Regions from separate parts of the Homo sapiens genome. Here regions 1 and 2 are each linked to region 3. Evidence: promoter capture Hi-C in human tissues and cell types (Jung and others, 2019). All regions are on one chromosome and are shown on one strand. Each heading gives the region's core, a stretch centred on a gene start or on the middle of the fragment in contact. The rest is flanking DNA. Distances are from core to core; before and after follow the strand shown. Region 1 overlaps CLUAP1 (clusterin associated protein 1). Region 2 holds the start of TRR-CCT3-1 (tRNA-Arg (anticodon CCT) 3-1). Region 3 holds the start of TIGD7 (tigger transposable element derived 7).

The links. The method cuts DNA at HindIII sites, captures the fragments that hold promoters and counts their contacts. A contact is called where the count stands out against the background at its distance.
Region 1: a fragment that was not itself captured here is called in contact with the fragment with the promoter of TIGD7 in region 3 in 1 of the 25 tissues and cell types used here (bladder).
Region 2: a fragment that was not itself captured here is called in contact with the fragment with the promoter of TIGD7 in region 3 in 1 of the 25 tissues and cell types used here (spleen).

What each region holds. Positions count from the first base shown.
Region 1 is chr16:3,519,661-3,523,276 of GRCh38, forward strand. CLUAP1 (clusterin associated protein 1) reads left to right here. Exons shown (of 12, transcript NM_015041.3): 7 at 243-376; 8 at 3,498-3,616. Among named protein-coding and RNA genes, the nearest start is that of CLUAP1, 20 kb to the left of the region's middle. The HindIII fragment of the contact is 3,871 bases long and covers 316-3,616 here.
Region 2 is chr16:3,152,067-3,155,263 of GRCh38, forward strand. TRR-CCT3-1 (tRNA-Arg (anticodon CCT) 3-1) reads left to right here and starts at 834; the gene lies at 834-906. It also overlaps the pseudogene TRP-AGG6-1. RefSeq lists a silencer at 862-1,001. The HindIII fragment of the contact is 9,846 bases long and covers 1-3,197 here.
Region 3 is chr16:3,303,135-3,306,713 of GRCh38, forward strand. It overlaps TIGD7 (tigger transposable element derived 7), which reads right to left and starts at 2,296. Exons shown (of 2, transcript NM_033208.4): 1 at 2,078-2,296. It overlaps ZNF75A (zinc finger protein 75A), which reads left to right and starts at 2,363. Exons shown (of 7, transcript NM_001302109.2): 1 at 2,363-2,509. RefSeq lists an enhancer at 1,857-2,386. The HindIII fragment of the contact is 22,904 bases long and covers 1-3,579 here.

The DNA of each region.
Region 1 (3,616 bases), core at 1,001-3,500, 220 kb after region 3:
CCTGGGTAGAAATGCCTGCTTTTCATGGGGAAAAAAAAAGAGATACCTTTTTCTGGACCTGTGTGACATTCTCCCTGGAACTAGTGGGTTAAGTGAGTCATTGCTTGGGGAAGTGTCTATTTGTTTGCTTTTGTGTTTGTTGAGCATAATGTTGCTATGCCTGAAGAGTTGCAAAATTCTTCTAAGAATTAGGATGGCTGTTTTTATTGCCACCTTGTCTCATTATTTCCCATTAAATATAGACACAGGTTCAGAAGACTAAAGACCTGCTCAATAATGTGGCCTCTGATGAAGCTAATTTAGAAGCCAAAATCGAAAAGAGAAAATTAGAACTGGAAAGAAATCGGAAGCGACTAGAGACTCTGCAGAGTGTCAGGTAGATATGAACACTTGGAGAATGAGTAGAAAGATGTCCTGGAAAGTTCAAACAAACTGGGCGTGGTGGCTCATGTCTGAAATCTCAGCTACTCATGAAGCTGGGGCGGGGGGTTCTCTTGAGCCCAGGAGTTTGAGACCAGCCTGGGCAGCATAATGAAACCCCATCTCTAAAAATTTTTAAAAATTACCTCAGTATGGTGATACACACCTGTAGTCCCAGCTACTTGGGAGGCTGAGGCGGGAGGATTGCTTGAGCCCAGGAGGTTGAGGCTGCAGTGAGCTATGGTTGCATCACTGCACTCCAGCCTGAGCCACAGAACAAGGCCGAGTAACAGAACAAGGCCCTGACTCTAAAAGAAAAAAAAAGTTAGAACAAAGACTTAAGAGAATAGAATGTGATCTTAACTCTTCTCAAGCAATGAAAAAAAGCCTTACATAAGGGTATCTTCACCTCAAATGTACATGTGTTGCCTGTCATAACAAGCAGATGGCTAAACTCATTCTCTTTACTGCTTGCGGTATGTCTGGAAAACTGCTTAAAGCTTGAACTGCCCTTTAAGCTTTTATAGCTTCTTGGAACTCAAGGCAGAGTAAGTGAATCCAGACGGGGAAATCCAGACGTGGTCTCCTAAGATCTTGCCATAAATTAGGTAGAAACAGAAACATACTCCTGCCTGTTTGTTGGCATAGATTTTAGACTTTATTTAAACCTTGATCATTCCTCACCAGTCAGTAATTCATCTTTCTTCCTACGTTACCTCATTGGAAATATATTTCCCAGGAATACCGATGGAGAATAGTGGTGCCGGCTCTCTCTCTCTTCTCTTCCTCGTTCTGTGCCTCTTTCCCTCCCCCATGCTTCTGCTCTTTCTCCCTTTTCATTCACCCTTTATTTTTCTTTCTTCTTGGCTCCCTCCTCTTCCCAGCTGCCTACTCTGCTCGGATGTTTTGCCTTTTTGGATGTTGGTGGCTGGCTACACCCTGCCCACTGTCCCGAGGTCTGTGGGGAGGCAGCACCTGGAGGCAGCGACAGCAACCACAGGGAGCGCCCTGGCTCCTCCCTGCCCAGCGCAAGGCCAAGGCCCTTCCCCTCCTGAAACTGGCTCTTTACCTCTGGAGCCTCAGAGAGGGAAAAAAAAAAAAACAGAAGTCATTGCCGCCATATAGATTGATCTCCTTGACACATTCCACTTTTAAAGCATCAATTCATTTTTGTTAAGCTCCAAATCATTTTAACAGAAAAGTCTCTTTGTTTTGCTCTAGTTCAAAAGATTATAATTATTTCTGAGTTTATCTGCTTATATTTTTAAAAGAGTAGAATTTTCCCTTTAAGGTCAATAATAAGAAAAAAGAAAAAGTTCAGCAAACCAGTATAGATTTTTATGGTTTTTTTTGTTTTTGTTTTTTTTTTTTGAGTTGGAGTTTCGCTCTTGTTGCCGAGGCTGGAGTGCAATGGCGCGATCCCGGCTCACTGCAAACTCTGCCTCCCGGATTCAAGCGATTCTCCTGCCTCAGCCTCTCAAGTAGCTGGGATTACAGGCGGCCGCCACCACGCCCAGCTAATTTTTGTATTTTTAGTAGAGACGGAGTTTCACCATGTTGGCCAGGCTGGTCTTGAACTCCTGACCTTGTGATCCACCTGCCTTGGCCTCCCAAAGTGCTGGGATTACAGGCATGAGTCATCATCACGCCTGGCCTTTTTAAAAAATTTTTTATCGTTTAAAAACCTCTTTAGACTGGGCACAGTGATTCACGTCTATAATCCCAGCACTTTGAGAGGCCAAGGCGGGCAGATCGCTTGAACTCAGGGGTTCAAGACCAGCCTGGGCAATATGGCGAAACCCCATCTCTACAAAAAAAAAATATAAAAAATAGCTGGGCATAGTGGCACATGTCTGTAGTCCCAGCTACTTGGGGGCCTGAGACAGGAGGATCACCTGAGCCCAGGCGTTCGATGCTGCAGTAAGCCATGATCACACCACTGCACTGTAGCCTGGGTGACAAAGTGAGACCCTGTCTCAACAAACAAAAAAAAACCACCAGCCTTAATTCGTAACAACCTGTGGTCCCCTTTTTAGAGGATTGCTTTAAATTTATAATATCCTGACAGTAGAACATTATTATTATTATTATTATTTCTTTTGAGATGGAGTCTCTCTGTGTTGCCTAGGCTGGAGTGCAGTGGCGCAATCTCGGCTCACTGCAACCTCCACCTCCCAGGTTCAAGCAGTTCTCCTGCCTCAGCCACCCGAGTAGCTGGGATTACAGGCATGTGCCACCACGCCTGGCTAATGTTTGTATTTTTAGTAGAGACGAGGTTTCACCATGTTGGCCAGGCTGGTCTGAAACTCCTGACCTCAGTTGATCCACCCGCCTCAGTCTCCCAAAGTGCTGGGATTACAGGCGTGCGCCACCGCACCCGGCCAACAGTAGAACATTATACCCAAATAAGATAATAATATATATATTTATTGATTTGGAGAGATGTGTCTGGTATGTGATTTTTTTGCCTTTAGAGATGGGGTCTCAATGTGTCACCCAGGCTGGAGGGCTGGAGTGCCACGGCAAGGTCAGAGGATCCTCACTCACTGCAGCCTTGAACTCCAGGGCTCAATCCTCCTCCTACTTCAGCCTCCCAAAGTGCTAGGGTTACAGGTGTGAGCCGATGCACCCAGCCTGATCATTTTTAACTCTATTGAGATTACGGTATATTGAAATGAAATAAAGATTATAAAATTTCTTGGTATATTTAATTTTTTTTTTAAATGCATTCCTATCTATATTTATGCATAGAAAAGTCTGGAAGGATGTATGTCAACTATCAAGCGCTTATACCTGGTGATGGGATTATCAGTAATTTTTACGTCATTCTTCATACTTTCAGGATTATTTCAAGTTTTTACAAAGAGCACATCTTATTTATGATGAAAAAGAAGTATGTTCATTTTGGGGGGAGAAAGCAGAAAAGGGAAAATATTTTTAAGCATTACAAGAATGAAGGACCTTCTCTAATTAAGGGTTTCCAGAGAAAGCCACCATGGAATCTGAAACTGTGAATACCCATTTCAAACTACTGCATATAATTCACCTTTCCTTTTTATTTCATTTGCTTCTTTTAGGCCATGTTTTATGGATGAGTATGAGAAGACTGAGGAAGAATTACAAAAGCAGTATGACACTTATCTGGAGAAATTTCAAAATCTGACTTATCTGGAACAACAGCTTGAAGACCATCATA
Region 2 (3,197 bases), core at 689-3,188, 150 kb before region 3:
GCCTCCGGTCGGCGGACGCTGGTGACCTGGCGTCGTGCAGGGTGTCACTTTCTCCTTTAATTTTTTTTGATGTTTCAGTGGTTTACGAAGGTATTTGTTTTTGGTAGAGACGGGGCGCTCACTATTTTGCCCATGATGGTCTCGAACTCCTGGACTGAAGCGTTTACTAGGTATTAAAGGAAAAGAACGTCATTAAAATACAGATTTTTTAAAAAAGGAAAATAACACACGTGTTGGGGCAGGAAAGTAAACACCCAACGTGGCGATCCTGAGATTAACACCTAGCCAGCTGGGGATGTAGAGGGCGGATTTTGGAGGGTCATTATTAAGAGGCTTCCGACCACTGGGCGGCACCCTTGGTCTAACGGACAATGCGGGGGAGGAGGACGAAGACCGACACTTCCAGAAGCGGCGGGCTCGGGATGAGGAGCCAGTTGCTGAGCTGGCATCGCGTGCCCCTTCCCATACACTCTACCCATCGCAAGTGCATCATTCGCTACTAATTACCCCTAGACTTGGGTTGTCTCCTGAGTGGAGACGACGGCTTGTGAAGGAGTTGATCCAGGCACCTCTCGCACCCTAAGCGAAGATCATACCCCTAGACCAAAGAGCGGAGCCAAAAATCTGACGTTCGGTGTCTTTCAGGTCCCTCTGCACGTGCGCCGTCTCTTTGGGGTCCCGAGGATGCTCAGGAGCGGACGAGATCTGAACCGAAGCTTGGATTGCAGTGGAGGGGCGGGAGAAAGGCCAGGGTAGGACGGGCAGGCTGTGCAGGAACCACCGCGGAGTGATGGAGAAACTGGTCTAAGACAAGCGACAGCGTTTTGTTATCCGCCCCGGTGGCCTAATGGATAAGGCATTGGCCTCCTAAGCCAGGGATTGTGGGTTCGAGTCCCACCCGGGGTAAAGAAAGGCCGAATTTTAGTGTTCCTTATCGGGCAGAAGAGTTAGAATGCGGTATACTCCAGTGGAGGTGCGGAGTTTCCGAAGGGTTACCAAAAAGGCTCTAAATCAGAAACCTCTACCTGTTTTCAAGGAAGACGAGCACAATTTCACGTTACAGAAAAAAGGAGCCGAATCTTTTACAGGATGTTAAGTACCATCCATTTAACTTGATAGAAAGGAATGATTGTTTATTTTTCCAGGTTTGTTAATTCTATTATGGTTACAAATATTTTTTAAATCCTTTTTTTTATAAACACAATTATTTACAGATTAAATTACAAGACAACTGGTTTGTTTTAAAAATCATAAAACTGAGGCCAGGTGCGCTGGCTTAAACTTGTAATCCCAGCCTGTAATCTCCGTTTCAAAAAAAAAAAAAAAGAAATCATAAGATGGATGGCGGTATAGATGAAACTACTTATCCATGAGTAGATAATGGGGGACATGAGGGGACATTGCACTATTTTCTCTCTTTTAATACATATTTGAAATAGTCCATAGTATTCTTTTTTTAAATCCATGCAATATATGATGCCATCTTCAAGGTAAAAATTTCCCGAACTACAGGACATGGTGTAAAGTAAAATCAGAAGCCGCTCTGATGGGGACCACTGCTGGAGTTTTGTCATAAATATGTATAAAAACATGGTTGGCTTTTGCCTTTAAAACCAATAATTGGCCCGGGCGCAGTGGCTCCCGCCTGTAATCCCAGCACTTTGGGAGGCCGAGGCGGGCGGATCACGATCACGCACCAGCCTGACCAACACGGTGAAACCCCGTCTCTACTAAAAATAGAAAAATTAGCCGGGCGTGGGGGCACGCGCCTGTAATCCCAGCTCCTCAGGAGACTGAGGCAGGAGAATCACTTGAACCCGGGAGGTGGAGGTTGCAGTGAGCGGAGATCGCGCCACTGCACTCCAGCCTGGGTGACAGAGACTCCGTCTCAAAATAAATAAATAAATAAATAAAACTCATAATTGGGACTCTTCTGTTTTTCCAGCTCTGGCCTGGCTTCTCCCAGTTCCCCAAACATCCTGGACCCCATCATCTCCACTGAAATCAGGGACCTCACCTCAATGGCATTACCTTCCTCACCTCAATGGCGTTACCTTCCTCACCTCAATGGGGTTACCTTCCTCACCTCAATGGCGTTACCTTCCACACCTCAATGGGGTTACCTTCCTCACCTCAATGGCATTACCTTCCTCACCTCAATGGGGTTACCTTCCTCACCTCAATGGCATTACCTTCCACACCTCAATGGGGTTACCTTCCTCACCTCAATGGCATTACCTTCCACACCTCAATGGGGTTACCTTCCTCACCTCAATGGGGTTACCTTCCACATCTCAATGGCATTACCTTCCTCACCTCAATGGCATTACCTTCCTCACCTCAATGGGGTTACCTTCCACACCTCAATGGGGTTACCTTCCACACCTCAGTGGCGTTACCTTCCACACCTCAATGGCATTACCTTCCACCATCATAGGCCACCTGTAGAGAATGGCCACCAGAGAGCTACTTAAGGAAGCTGATGCTTCAGTGATGGATTTTTTCGGGAGGCCTTGTGAAAGGGAGTGTCCTGGCCTGGTGCGGTAGCTCACACCTGTAATCCCAGCACTTTGGGAGGCCGAGGCAGGCGGATCACGAGGTCAGGAGTTCTAGAGCAGCCAGGCCAATATGGTGACACCCCATCTCTACTAAAAATACAAAAATTAGCCGGGTGTGGTGGCGCTCGCCTGTAGTCCCAGCTACTTGGGAGGCTGAGGCAGAAGAATCGCTTGAACCCGGGAGGCAGAGGTTGCAGTGAGCTGAGGTCGTGCCACTGCACTCCAGCCTGGGCGACAGAGTAAGACTCCGTCTCAAAAAAAAGAGAAAAGAGAAAAAGAAAGAAAGAAAGAAAGGGAGTGTCCTCTGGTCTTCTCAGTGGTATGCACATCATGCGTGAAAGATGCACTCCAACATTGCTTGGTGTCTTTAGGTTTCTTTCTCTACAGTTTGCCTGAGACGTTCTGGCAGCCCGGTCTCATTAAACATAGGCCACCACTGAGTTCAATTTTCAGCCAACCAACCAAGAAACCTGGTAGGGCCATGGTCAGCTGCATGAGATAACATATTAACTATAGGCTCTTTGGGATATGCACCCAGATGGATAAATTCACCAGATACAAAATCATATCCCATCCTCCTTATGATGGCTTAAAGTAGCCAAACTTGTTTTGTTTCTGTTTTGTTTTGTCATGTAGGCT
Region 3 (3,579 bases), core at 1,046-3,545:
GCCACAGTCATCATTTCTAAAACAGTGCCCAAGCAAGGGGAGGTGAAACCAAAAGGAAAGGCTCAAGGAATGTTTGTGGGCTTCAAAGGATAAGCCACTATGGCAGCAAACCTCACACAATGAAAATCACCAGTGCCTCTTATTCACTATTCACAATTTGTGCCTTGCTGCCTCTTTTTCCCATGAATCCCTTTTCCCTTTAACCAACTTCCTGTGTTATGAATCAGGCCTGTCAATGATATCCAAGGGCACTGCTTAGCACTGCTAGCAGAACTTCACTTATTCAACTTAATAAATTCTAATTATATATTCAGCATTGGGCCAGGTGATGAGAATCTTAATGCTGATGGCGCTACTGTCCACTGGTTCTGATAGACTGAGAATATTTACTGCTGAAGAAATGAAGTCCCAACCTGGCTGAGATTTTAAGGAAATGAACCTACTTAGACACAAATTCAAGTGACTTAGGCAGATGCTCATTATTAAATCTGTTTATCTTTCTCTCTCACTTAAAAAGGATCAAGATCTATGCCTAAGAGGAGTTACATACCATCCCATCCAAAAGCAAAAATAGCATAATGGCCTGGTAATGGCCTCTCATCTTCATTCTCACCTTAAACTTACCTTAGATGAACTGCCATAGAAAGCAGCTCAGTCCAAAACGCTCAAATGGTGCTCCAGGATTTACTTTTTTGTATTGTTTTGTTTTGTTTTTTGCGACGGAGTCTCGCTCTGTCGCCCAGGCTGGAATGCAGTGGCGTGAACTCGGCTCACTGCAAGCTCCGCCTCCCGGGTTCACGCCATTCTCCTGCCTCAGCCTCCCGAGTAGCTGGGACTACAGGCGCCCACCACCACGCCCGGCTAATTTTTTTTTGTATTTTTTAGTAGAGACGGGGTTTCACCATGTTAGCCAGGATGGTCTCGATCTCCTGACCTCATGATCCGCCCGCCTCGGCCTCCCAAAGTGCTGGGATTACAGGCGTAAGCCACCGCGCCCGGCCAGGATTTACTTTCTTAAATGCACTCTTTTCATTCCCATTCAAAGGACTCCAGTATAAGTGCCACATAAACTCGTTTTCTAACTTTTAAAACTCTTCCTCTAAATGCAGCCCAACTCAGTAAAAACGTACCTAAGATCTCACAGTCTAATGTTTCCAGCTTTTAAAGCCTTTACTCCTACCCTTCCCTCTGCCTGGAAAGTGTCTCCATTCCCTGCTGTGGACAAAATCCCTCAAGGTCTTTTATAATTTCCCCCAACCCCAAATCAACTTGGATTTTCTTGGAGTTCTCACAGCATTCAGTTTATGTCCTATTCTTACCCTTGTGTTACTGATATTCACGAAATTGCTCAGTCCTTTCAAGAGATTGCTTAAGGACAAAGACTTCTTACTCAACTCTGCAATATTGGCTACACATAGCTGACTTAATAAATAGTCCCTTGACTGGTATAAGCTGACGTTACAAAAACTGGTAATTCCGAAACCACTCATACTGGACTTATTAAATAATCCCTCAACTGGTACAGACTGACATTACAAAAACGGATTAATTCAGAGATCACTGAACACCCAAAACACTCAGATTCTTATAACTATGATTCAGTAAATATGTGTGGAATGCCTATCTTACCAGGTGACTATGTTAGGCGCTGCATGAGATATAAGATGAAAACAAGGTTCCCATTTTCCAGGGAAGAATACTGGAGTGGAAAACGCAGAGGATACCACAACAGGAGAGCTATTTCCGATTAGCGGCCGCCACTGCTGAGCTATGTGACCCTGAGCAAGTCACTTCTTAGGTCTCCGTTTCTCTGTCAAGGAGAGATAGAAAAAGAACCTATTTCACAGGTTCAAACCTACCTCAAGAAAAAATAGTTGTGGGGAATGCGTCACGAGACCTAGAAAACGGTACAAAACCCTCGGGGGGCCGCTGTTTCTGACCTAGCGAGTGGCCCGACCCGGACAAAATGCCTCTTCCTCGAGGAGGCGGCGACGAGCCCAGCAACAGCTCGAGCACGGCCGGCCGGGCCGCGGGAAGCCCGAGAACGCGGCGCGCGCAGCTGGGAGGCGACCCTTACCCGGCGAGGCTCCCGGGACCAAACGCCGCCCGACAGCCACGCAGAACAGACGCGGCAGTGCGACGCCTCCCCCACTGGGGACACGAGACAGCGACAGCCACGCGGTGAGCCGGTACAAGGCCCTCTAGGCTTCAGCGGGTCTGGATACTCGGTGGCATTAACCCTTCCCTACCGCCGGGGAAGACAGCAGTTTCTCTGGCGAGGAAGTAGGCCGGGCTCAGGCGCCTTAGCCAGAGGGCGGGCCTGCGCCACCCTCGGAAAGCGTCACTTCCACTTCCGGCCGGCGCTCTGGCTCTGTACCTGGACAGGGCTGCGGTAGGCCAGCGGTGGGCTGGCGGTTGCGCTCCTCAGATCGGCGGCCTTTCGGGCGGTGGCTTGCGTTTGAGCCTCAGAAAGCGAGGAGCGGCCTCCACGGAAGCCAAGCTGGCCGAGGTAACCGAGAAGCGGCTTCCCCTATGGCTTCGACCCTGGAGCCGCTGGAGCGGCGGCGGCCGCAGGGAGGCAGCCATTTTCCGTAGGCGGTGGCCGCGGCGCTTCCGGGCCGCGCGGCTGGAGCCTGAGGCGGGGCCACCGTCGGGCACGAGAAACCATTCTCTCCCCGCTTTTCGCAGCTGTATCCCAGAGGCGCGGCTGAAGCTCGCTGGGACACTGCCCGCTTGCCCAGTGCCCACGGGCACGCCTGTCGCAGACACAGGCTGTGGCGAATCCGAGTGCTGGCGGGCAGCAGTGCCTGCAGCTGCGCCCGCAGACTCTTTCCCGCCTCCGCCGGCATTTCCGTGTCCGGCCGATGTCATGCGGTCGGTTGAGCCTCAGGGCTAGCAGCTTCTACTGATGCAAAAACATAGGAAGTGTCTCTTTGCTTCTGGAACCGGGGTGGGCAGCAAGGAGCTGGCCACTTCTTTGAATACCGGTGGCATCCTGGGCAGAATTTCGGTGCCGTTTCTGCTGGCTCACTTCAGGAAAAGTGAGGCTCACGGCTCTCCTCAGCCCCCCTTAGAAGTCTAAATGACCTTTGGAGAAATACAAAGTCAGCAGAAAGTTTCACTTTCATCGTCACCAACTCCTGTTGGAGTTGATATTTCATAAACATCAGCGACAGAAAGAAAATACGACTTGATATTTTGTAAATAAAATATCCTTTTTTACAAGTTGATATTTTGTAAACAGAGGTCAGCTGTAATTTTCTCCAGATCAAGTAAGCACAGTTAAAAATTCATATAGGCCTGGCGCGGTGTTTGACGCCTGTAATCCCAGCACTTTGGGAGGCCAAGATGGGTGGATCACGAGGTCAGGAGATCGAGACCACCCTGGCCAAGATGGTGAAACCCTGTCTCTACTAAAAACACAAAAATTAGCCGGGCATGGTGGCACGCGCCTGTAATCCCAGCTAGTCGGGAGGCTGAGGCAGGAGAATGGCTTCAACCGGGGAGGTGGAAGTTGCAGTGAGCTGAGATCACGCCACTGCACTCCAGCCTGGGTGACAGGGCGAGACTCCATCTCAA